Linked DNA regions of Homo sapiens: region 1 is linked to region 2. The links are contacts of gene promoters, found by promoter capture Hi-C in human tissues and cell types (Jung and others, 2019). All regions are on one chromosome and are shown on one strand. The core of a region is centred on a gene start or on the middle of the fragment in contact, and the rest is flanking DNA. Distances in the headings are between cores, read along the strand shown.

The links. The method cuts DNA at HindIII sites, captures the fragments that hold promoters and counts their contacts. A contact is called where the count stands out against the background at its distance.
Region 1: a contact is called between a fragment that was not itself captured here and the fragment with the promoter of C10orf67 in region 2, in 4 of the 25 tissues and cell types used here (adrenal gland, hippocampus, small bowel and 1 more).

Annotation. Positions count from the first base shown.
Region 1 is chr10:23,582,334-23,587,411 of GRCh38, forward strand. It overlaps LOC105376454 (a long non-coding RNA gene), which reads left to right. Exons shown (of 9, transcript XR_930754.3): 9 at 3,415-3,907. Among named protein-coding and RNA genes, the nearest start is that of OTUD1, 150 kb to the left of the region's middle. The HindIII fragment of the contact is 4,928 bases long and covers 1-4,726 here.
Region 2 is chr10:23,340,955-23,346,171 of GRCh38, forward strand. It overlaps C10orf67 (chromosome 10 open reading frame 67), which reads right to left and starts at 3,843. Exons shown (of 16, transcript NM_001371909.1): 1 at 3,615-3,843. The coding sequence starts at 3,820. C10orf67-AS1 (C10orf67 antisense RNA 1) reads left to right here and starts at 3,003. Exons shown (of 2, transcript NR_155752.1): 1 at 3,003-3,136; 2 at 3,470-4,207. RefSeq lists a silencer at 4,966-5,217. The HindIII fragment of the contact is 15,239 bases long and covers 1-5,217 here.

The DNA of each region.
Region 1 (5,078 bases), core at 1,013-3,512, 240 kb after region 2:
GTGTGATTACAGAATTGGGCCTTTGGGCCACAGGATATAAGTCTGACCTCCAGAGAGACAAGAAGAGGGTGCTGGAAGTTGAGTTCAGCTATGTGGTCAATGATTAAGTCATGCCTATGTAAGAAAACCGCAATAATCACTCTGGACACTAAAGTTCAGGTGAGTTTCCCAGGTTGGCAGTACTGGGAGTGTTTTGTTACATTTTGATAATGGGAGTGTAAGGCATCCTTGACGATGATGAAAACTTTATATCTGGAATCCTCCCAGAACTCATCCTATATGCCTCTGCTTCTAATTTATATTCTTTTGCTATAATACAGCTGTAATCATAAGTATAGTGTTTGTCTGAATTCTTTGAGTTGTCCTAGCAGATTATCAAGCCTAAGGGTGGTCATAGAAACCCCTGAATTTGTAGCCAGTTGGTCTGAAGCGAAGGTGGTGGTGGGGGACCCCAAAACTCACAATTGGTGTCTGTATTGAGGCCAGACCTGTGACGTCTGTTTCCTTAGACTTTGAAGCTTGATATTCTCATTGCAGTTGGTGTCAGAAGTTTTGGCTAGATGTAGCAGTCTGGAAGACTGTGCCCTTAACTGTGAGTTTACCTAAGTCTGGTACCCACTGATGGAGAAAGGCAGTTTCAGAAAGAAAAAAAATGTGGGCAGGCAAAACCAACAAACTGAATCAAACCAACCCAAATCAAATAACCAGCTGCCTCCCTTTGTAAGAGAACCCATCACTCCCAGATGTATGGCCTGTAATAATGTCTCATGACTACTAAGACTTTTCAGAAAATGCTTCCCAGAACCTATAACCTTGGGCATTTTGTGTTTTGTACCTTCCCTGACTGGTGGTTCTGAAATTAAAATTTGAGTTGCATTACTAATTACTAATAACAAATTAATGTGCTACCATTTTTTCTGATGTTTACTTTTGAACAATCTTTAATGCTTAACCCAAGTCAGGGAGTAATCTAGAATGTAAGCTTCTCAAAGGCAGGCACCTGTTTGAAAACTGCCAGGTGCCAAGGTAGTTAATTTGAACAATGGGCCAAACAATAAGGCCTTTATTTACTTATTGCAACAGTACAAGCAAGAGACCAATAAGAGAAGGTGCTGGCTTCCCCATTGTTCCATTTTTGTGTTTCTAGGAATGGTTCACACAGGAAAATCATCTCATTGCTAAAGGGACACTGAACAAAAGGCTCCTGCTGTTTTATGGAGTGGGATATTGGAGGAGGCAGAGAAGGGCTAGGAGTGGGAAAAGTACTGAGAACTGAGTCACAGTGGAAAAAGGTGTCTTTAGCTTTAAGCCCCTCCTCTTGCCCCACACCCATTAGGAAGTCTTAGCAGAGGCATCTGAACAGTGTCTCAGCTGAGCCCTCCCACCCGCTTCCCGAAGGTAAGCAGGCCTCCAACTGGAGTCACCTAGGCTAGGAAAATGGGTATGTGTAAGAGCATGTCCAGCCAGGGGCATGCACCTGAGTCCCTGAGTGCAGCTTCCTTCAGAGGATGCAACGCTTTGGCTGTGCACCAACTCTAGTAAGGGGAGGATCACTCCTCCCGCTCATGCCTTGTGATGCCTGCCAGGTGAAGTCTTTGTGATTGGCTAAGGTCTGTCTTGAAAGAGCACATGTAGGATTTTGGCTCAAAGTCAGACACCTCAGTATCCTTGTCTGTTCCTTAATGTATCATAAGTTTCTAAAGTAGTGCTCGGCACATAGTTGGTGCTCAGTAACTGTTATTTTTATAGGTGCTAACATGGGTAGAGCCACTGCAGATACTGTAGGGGTTATTCCGTGGATCCTAATGTTGCCAAATGTTAGAGCAGCTGGCTCCAAAATTGATGTGGTCCAGTAAGCATGGGGTGATGGGTCCTGCCAGGTTTCCAGCAGAATGAACACAGTGAAAGGTAGAATTGTGGTCTGCAACTGGAATATAGCTAAAAGACAAGCGCTGGCAAAAGAAAAAAAGAAGTCAAGAAATGAATCAATGGTTATAGCAGTGCGCTTTTGTGCCAACTGGATGGCCATGTAGCTTTATAATTCTAAACTCTCATTTGAGGAAGGCAGATTAGATTATGAAAGTTGTAACAACTCTGTGCACCTTTTGCCATTTGTCCTTTGGACTCATTCACAATGTCATGGTCATAGTACTCTTTGTTCCCTATATATCGGCAGAGGAAATATCTTCCTATCTCTGACTATGGCATATTCTCATTTAAGGAGAGGGCTCTGCTGATGATTGCATGCGGCTCCCCCATCTGTCCCTCCAGCTTGTGTGTTTGTCCAAATTCAGAGCTATAACTCACAGTTTTCCTCTGCAACATGGAGTACCTTTCATTGCTCAGTGTTAACTCACTGAATTGAAGGGATTAAAGAGACAACTTTTCTAAACAAGAAAAGCCTCTTATGTTGAATGCTTCTTGAAAATTTGCATATTTTCATTTCATTGCTTTATAAATTATTACCTGGAAGTCATATCTTTGTAGTCTATAAACAATGTGATGAAGTTCAATATTTTTCTCTAACGGATTTGTTTTTAAAGAAACAAAGCTTGTATTCAAAGATTTCACAGATGTTTCCTATGATCCTGTGTTATTTAAAACTCATTCATTAAACACACCTGATGAATAGATCTATTACATTTTCTTAGCTGATTAAAAGTTCATTTTAGAAGGATGGAATGAATTATCACACAATGATTTCATTGCAATACATCTTTGTAGGTGTCCAGCATTATAAGGAATTGAGTTACAAATTGCTCTACAAATTGACAGGCTAGCAATCATTATTTTTCCATGTATTAGCTTGAGTCAATCTTTGATCTCATCATAGTTTCAATGGTAGAGAAGATGGAGGTGGTGAAGCGTTATTATTTTTCCAGCACAGAAAATTATGCCACAAAATAAAACATGTACAGGGTTGTCATAATGGCCCCAATGGTGATGACAGGAAAAAAGAATAGTTGCAGCTATCCTTCAGTGCACAGTGAAATAGTGAACAATTTGTTAAATATTCCCTGGAGTCAATTAAACTGGCATATGATCAGTTTGGAGGCTGCCAAGCCTCAGTGGGAGCCAATTAGAATTCACCAAAAATGACAATGGATGAATCTGAAAAAACAGTGTTAGATTTATGAGGGAAAGCAAACACATCATTGAGCCAAGAATAATCTTGGTGAGCACTCTCTAAAAGAGATTGGTAAATAGGTTGTATAGTGGTATCATGTTCACAGTGTTTCAAATGTTTCTTCTGCAATATTTTAAGCCATTACTGCAAAAAAATTAAATTAGTCTGATTTAGCCTACACAACATGAGAGAATCATTCTGCACATTGCAGCCATTATTAATTTTGTTCCAAAAGCAGCCTTGCATGAAAGATTAATTTTTCTTTTCTTTTTGGATTTAAACTACAGATAAACACTACAGATTGCTACAGATGAATGCTACTGACATGCTAAAGACTATATGACAATTCCTTTTAAAGTCAGACACTCAATTGTGAAAGATGTGTGAACAATCCAATGATGGATGTCCGTTAGTTCAGTGCTGTCAAGCTGAGTTACTACTCCACATCTCTGATACTGATGCTGTTTTTGCAGTCATGATTGAGTCGTTGAAGAAAAAAGCACTCTACAGAGTTCTGCCCAACTGTGTCCAAACAAGCAGCAACTTGAAATATCATTGGCTTACTCAGCAGCATCAGAACCCACAAAGCAAAGAGGTTAGATCCATCCAAGAGACTTTTCTGCAGCAGTAAATGGATTTGCCCTCTTTAGAGCAGGGAGCACAGCTCCAACACAATTATTCTTATTGGAACAGACTAAGGAATTTACTTCAAATGAGGTTGTTGGTTGTCCTGTGAAAGCTGTGTCAGAATAAATATTCAACTGCTCTTTGGAGGCATAATTTGTTAGCCCGTGAATCATTTGTGACCCATGAGCTGCATATAGCTGACTTTGTTTAAATGGAGGGAAAACTTCTTTCATTCTAGCAAAACTTGTATAAAGCTCAGGTATAGAGAAAACACTTTAACGTTCAGTTCTTTCCAAAGGGGCCATTTTTATATGCCAGATGTCCTGAAGCAATAAACTTTGTTACTTGTTCACAATAAATTTTGTTAAGGGAAAATTTCCAAATGACAGATGTCAACAGTAAACATCCACAACAGTTTAATGAAGATGTGGCTTTGAAATGTATAATTGTAGGGTAACAGTTTAAATGCAAGGCCAGTACTGTTACAATTTGACAAGGTGTGATGCTTTTCAGATTTTTTGGGGAGAGACATTGTAAATTCCTTACAGGAATATGTAGTTCATCTTTCATCGTTTCTAAATCTCTCTGAACCTAAGATAGTGCTTGAGCCTAACACTCAGGAGATGCTTGGTAATCAAAGAGATAATGATTATGCCCCCAATGCTTTTTATAGGGTTGTTTGGCTGACTGAGGCAAAATTTAGGGTGATTGGTATATGCCACGGGAAGTAGGAATAAGGCTGGGGTGTGCCATTAAGAACAAACAAAATTCCTAATGAAAAATTAAAAATTTCTTCTTTTTTTTCTTTTTTTAAAATTATACTTTAAGTTCTAGGGTACACGTGTACAACGTGCAGATTTGTTACATAGGTATACATGTGCCTTGTTGGTTCGCTGCACCCATTAACTTGTCATTTACATTAGGTATTTCTCCTAATGCTATCCCTCCCCCAGCCCCCAACCCCATGACAGGCCCCTGTGTGTGATGTTGCCTTCCCTGTGTTCAAGTGTTCTCATTGTCCAATTCCCACCTATGTGTGAGAACATGCGGTGTTTGGTTTTCTGTCCTTGTGATAGTTTGCTCAGAATGATGGTTTCCAGCTTCATCCATGTCCCTGCAAAGGACATGAACTCATCATTTTTTTATGGCTGCATAGTATTCCATGGTGTATATGTGCCACATTTTCTTAATCCAGTCTATCATTGGTGGACATTTGGGTTGGTTTCAAGTCTTTGCTATTGTGAATAGTGCCGCAATAAACATACGTGTGCATGTGTCTTTATAGTAGCATGATTTATAATCCTTTGGGTATATACCCAGTAAT
Region 2 (5,217 bases), core at 2,593-5,092:
TGTCCATCCTACAAATGCTTATTAATAAATCAGTCAATGAAGACAACATTAGGTGTGTTAAACTTTCACTGTGGCATATTTCTCAGGGCTAAATAAGAATATTGCTTCCTTTTACTCCTCTTCAAAGAACACAGAACTTTGATGTGCCCCATGGCTCATAAACTTCTCTAACTACACTCACTTCCTGGCTGATGTCACCAAGGCTCTCAGCTTAAGACACCATCTTTGTGCTAATTATTTCCAAACTGATACAGCCGAGCTGAACCTCTCTTCTTAACTTCAGACTCATCTAATCAACTACCTACTTAACAGCCTAAATGGATGTCTAATAGTCACTGCTGACATATAATGACCAGAAGTAAGCTTATGATATTCCCTTCAGACCTGTTCATCTCATTATCCTCCCCATCCGGGTTACTGGCAATTCCATTCTACCTGTTCATCACAGTCTCTCCGGACCTCCAACCACTGCTACCCCATGGTCATCTTCCATGAGGAATATTGTAATAGTCTCCTGTTTCCTTGTTTCTGCCCTCGTCCTCACTATAGTCTATTATCTAAACAGCCGTCAGAGTAATCCCATTGAAGGATAAATCAAATCATGTCACTCCTCTTTTCCAATCCCCTCATGGCTTCCCATCTCAAAGTAAAAGCTGAAGTCCTTAAGGTAGTCTAAAGTCCCTCGCCACAGGCACCGTCCCCCTTCCCTCTGACTTCACCTCCACTATTCTCCCTCTCTGCTCCAGCCACACTGGCCTCCTTGCTGCTCCTAGGACATCCAGGCACCATCTTTCTACCCAGTGTTCTCTCTGCCTGGAACACTTGCTAGCCTGATAGATCCTTAGGGCTCCCCCCTCAAGCCTGCAAGTCTTCACCCCAGTGTCATTTTCTCAGTGAAGCCTTCCCTGATCACCATTTCTAAAATCTGCAGTCCAGGCCGGGTATGGTGGCTCATGCCTGTAATCCCAGTACTTTGGGAGGCCGAGGCTGGAGGACTGCTTGAGCCCAGGAGTTTGAGACCAGCCTGGGCAACACAGCAAGACCCTGTATTAAAAATAAATTAGCCAGGCAGGCTGGGGTGTGCTTGTCGTCTCAGCTACTCAGGAGGCTGAGGTGGAGGGATCGCTTGACTCCAGGAGTTCAAGGCTGCACTGAGCCATGATTGTGCCACTACACTCCAGCCTGGGTGACAGAGTGAGACCCTGACTCTAAAAAACAAAACAAAACAAAACAAAAATTAAATCACAGCTCCCTCCCCACTTGCCACACACACACACACACACACACTCTCACACACTTACTCACTTTCCTCTTCTCCCTCCCCATGTTCGGTTTCTTCCTTATCACTAACCACTATCTAACTTATTACATAGTTTACTTGTTTATCTAGTTCATCATCAATTCCTGACTAGGATGCAAACTCCACAAAGGCCGGGCTTTCGTCTGCTTTGTGGACCACGTTCAGCACCTGAGCCTCTCTCATTCACACCCAGGCACCAGCTCAGTCGCCCTAGTACTTTGGGTGAAGAGGAAGGAATATGGGCATCAGTGGTTCTTTTGTTCAGCCAAAGAGCACCCGGCACCATCGGTCTGCTCTTGAGCCTGGCAAGTGCATTTTTTTTTGGGAGCTACCCCACCATGGAATGCCAAGGAGTCCAGGGCAGGACACCATTCCTATCAGCAAACACTAGAACAGGGTAGACGCTGTGTGCCTCTGGTGTTTATCACGTGCTGCCTCTAATAAATGCTATTCACAACCACCACTAGACCAGGTCCCGTGCACCCTGACCCATTTTAACAAACGTACCCATTGAATACAGTGAAGCTGGGGAAGCCCAGCCCAGGAGCATTGCCTCACTGGGTCAGTCCCACTGCTGGGCTAGGACACCTGTGGTCCCTTCTTCTCACCCTGGAGCTGTGTCTGTGTGAGGGGCTTGCCCCTAAGCCAGCCCACCTGGCACCATGAGGCCCCTGCCTTATACAACGGTAAGTTCTCCCATAGCAGCTAAGCTAATTCTGGCTACCTACTGATTTGAAAAGGTTTTTAGAAAGAAATTTGCATTTTCCCAGAAACATCAGCTCTACATTATCCAAATAAACAACAAAGCTAGAACACAGGGGGCAAAGGATTATGAAAGGGACGGGTTTTAAACAAGGATCAAGGAATAGCAAATAATGACATCGGCAAACACTTCTATGATTCTGCTATGGTCTGAGTGTGTCTCCTGAAAATTCATGTTGAAATCCTAACCCCCAAGATGACGATATTAGCAGGTGTGGACTTTGGAGGTGACTAGGTCATGAAAGTGGAGCCCTATAAATGGGATTAGTGCCCTTCTAAAAGCAGGGTGGGAGCGGGTGTGGGGGACGTGGGGGAAAACTCCCTTGCCCGTTGCACCATGTGGAGACACAGCCAGGAGGTACTGTCTGTGCAGAAGGGACCCTCATCAGACCTGGAATCTGCCAGTGGGCTTCCCAGCCTCCAGAACTGGGAGAAACAAATTCCTGTTGCTTATAAGCCACCCAGCCTATGTTGTTTTGTTACAGCAGCCCGAGGGGACTAAGACGGGTACTGTGTCCTAGATTAGCTCATTTAATATTCACTATGATCTATGAAGCAGGCACTACTCTTCATCATTCATGAACGATTATTTCCCGCTGAGAAAACTGAGGCACAGAGCAGTCAGTCGCCTAACTCACGGCCCCTGTGAGAGGGTCGCCAAGATTCTGGAATCCGGGCAGTCTGGCTCCAGAGTCCGTGCTCTTAGTGTCCAGCTATACACTTGAAGAAGTGAAAACTGCAGCTCTTTTCGGACAGTGATCCCCTCGAAAAACAAACAAAAAACTGAAGCCCAGCGGCTGGAGCAAGGGGCCTGGAAAGGCGTTGAGCGAGGGCCGGGGCGCGAGGGCTCCGGGGCGGGCCGGCGGGGACTGCCTCTCCCGCTGGTCACCTGGGGTTGAACTGGAATTGTTCAATAGAGGCCTCGAGGCCCTCCATGATCTTCCGGCCCTCCTCTGTCTCAGGCGAGTCGCCCCAGTTCGCCATTGCAGCCCCGGACGTGCGCCTCCCGCGGAGCCGCTCGCTCTCCTGAGTCGGAGTCGGGAACCCGGCGTCCGTTGCCATGGCGACTCCCAGGTAACCGGCGAAGCGCGGGAATCCGTGGGCGGGGGCCGGGGAGGGCCGCGAGTGGAGGGGGGTGGGGAACGGGGTGGGGAGGGGAAGGGGGAAGGAGATGGGGAGGAGGGGGATAGGGAGAAGGTTGGGGATGGGGGGGAAGGGGAGAGGGAAAGGAAGTAGAGGAGGTGTGGAGGGAAGGAAGAGGGGGAAGGAGTGGGGGAAGGGGGAAGAGATGGAAAGGAGGATGGGGAGGGAGCACGCGCGGGAGGAGGGGAGTGGAGAGGGGGAGGAGGAGGCGGGGCGGGCTCCCAAGCCACCCCGCTGCGCTTTCACTGTCCCGCCTGCCTCAAGGCTTCCCCACAAGACTCCCACAGCCTGGAGGCTGCTGCGATACCCCAGAGGAAAGCTGCACCCCCGTAAATAACCCTTCAGCCTCCCGCCGTGCCCCTGGACCCTGCTCGCTTCCTCCTCTACCCAGGCGCGGAGCTCAGCCTACCTCGTGGACCCGCGCATTTGCGGGGGCTTGAATTCCCGAGCTTCTCGCTTCCTACGCGCGCAGCAGACCCGCAGCTCGGTGGCCTTGGCTTTCATGGCCTCCCAGCGTGTGCCAAAGGTCCCCCTCAAGGAGGAGGAAAAGCAGTGAACCCATCTAATAACTATGCTCATGACATAATGAGCCCTGCGATCCCGGACCAAGGCCATCATAAGAGGAGAGCAGGCTGCCTAATAAGCTGTCTCCACCTGCCACAAACGTAGGCGTTCCTGGACAAAATATTTCCTTGCAGAGATTAAACAGATTTCTATTTAATGAGGTCAGAATGTGAGGCGTTAAGTCTTAAACTATACCATCTAGTGTGGAATTCAATTTTACCAGGTTTCTACAATAATAAGAGTTAATAGTGAAACTGTTGTCATCCTTAGTTTTAAATTATGTATCACTCATTGTCAACTAATAGGAGACACCTATTCTAATATCAGTATGTCATTGTTTTTCTGTAAACGACTGGCTAAATTTATTTTTAAAATGTCATTGTCTGGTTTAGAACTGTCTATACTACATCTGCATTTCAATATATTATCTACAGAAAAATAAGTTTTTTCTCCTCTCTCTTATTATTATTATTATTATTTTTTGGAGCCGGAGTCTCGCTCTGTCGCCCAGGCTGGGGTGCAGTGGCGCGATCTGGGCTCACTGCAACCTCCGCCTCCCGGGTTCAAGCAATTCTCCTGCTTCAGCCTCCCGAGCAGCTGGGACTACAGGCACACAGCACCAAGCCAGGCTAATTTTTTGTATTTTTAGTAGAGACGGGGTTTCACCGCGTTGTGCAGGCTAGTCTAACTCCTGAGCTCAGGCAATCTGCCCCCCTCGGCCTCCCAAAGTGCTAGATAACAGGCGTGAGCCACAGAGCCCGGCCTCTTCTCTGTCTTGTAACAGTAAGTGAAAATAACTTAGCTGGATTTAGAAGCTCAAAACAGGAAAAGAAAAGCACTGTAGCATTATCACTACTATTATGTTTAAAGACAAAGATTAAAAGCCCCAAATGCCAATAAAACATCATAACCAATGCCAAAATCATCTTCTGTGAAGGCTTATTTTTTGGGGGGGAGATGAAGAGAGAAGAGAAAAAGAGTTACTTTTACTCTTTGGAGGTTTTTAATTACAAACTCTAACTTCAGACTTTATTTGGGGAATTTTTATTATATAATCAAAAGGTATTTTAAAAGAAAGAAATTTATATATCTACAATAACTTTTCTTTTTCCTAAGTGATATTTTACCACAATGTATATACATGTTTTAAAATAAAGATTAAAATTTTAAGTTAAAATTTCAAAACCTATCTGTTTAGAGCTGGGCCAAGACAGTGTAAAGAATGTGACAAGCTGTTGGCTATTTTCCTAGTGCAATTATAAATGAATCGTTTGAAACTGAGGAGAGAGATCGCACAGAAGATTTCATGAGTCATTGGTCAGCTCTGTACAGCATTTGTTGACTGATATAGTCTGCATAGTTACGCCATCCCACAAAAACATGCATTGAACAGAACATCTTTGTTTGAAACCTTGCTATAGCATATCAAGGAGTTTCAGATTTCAGTG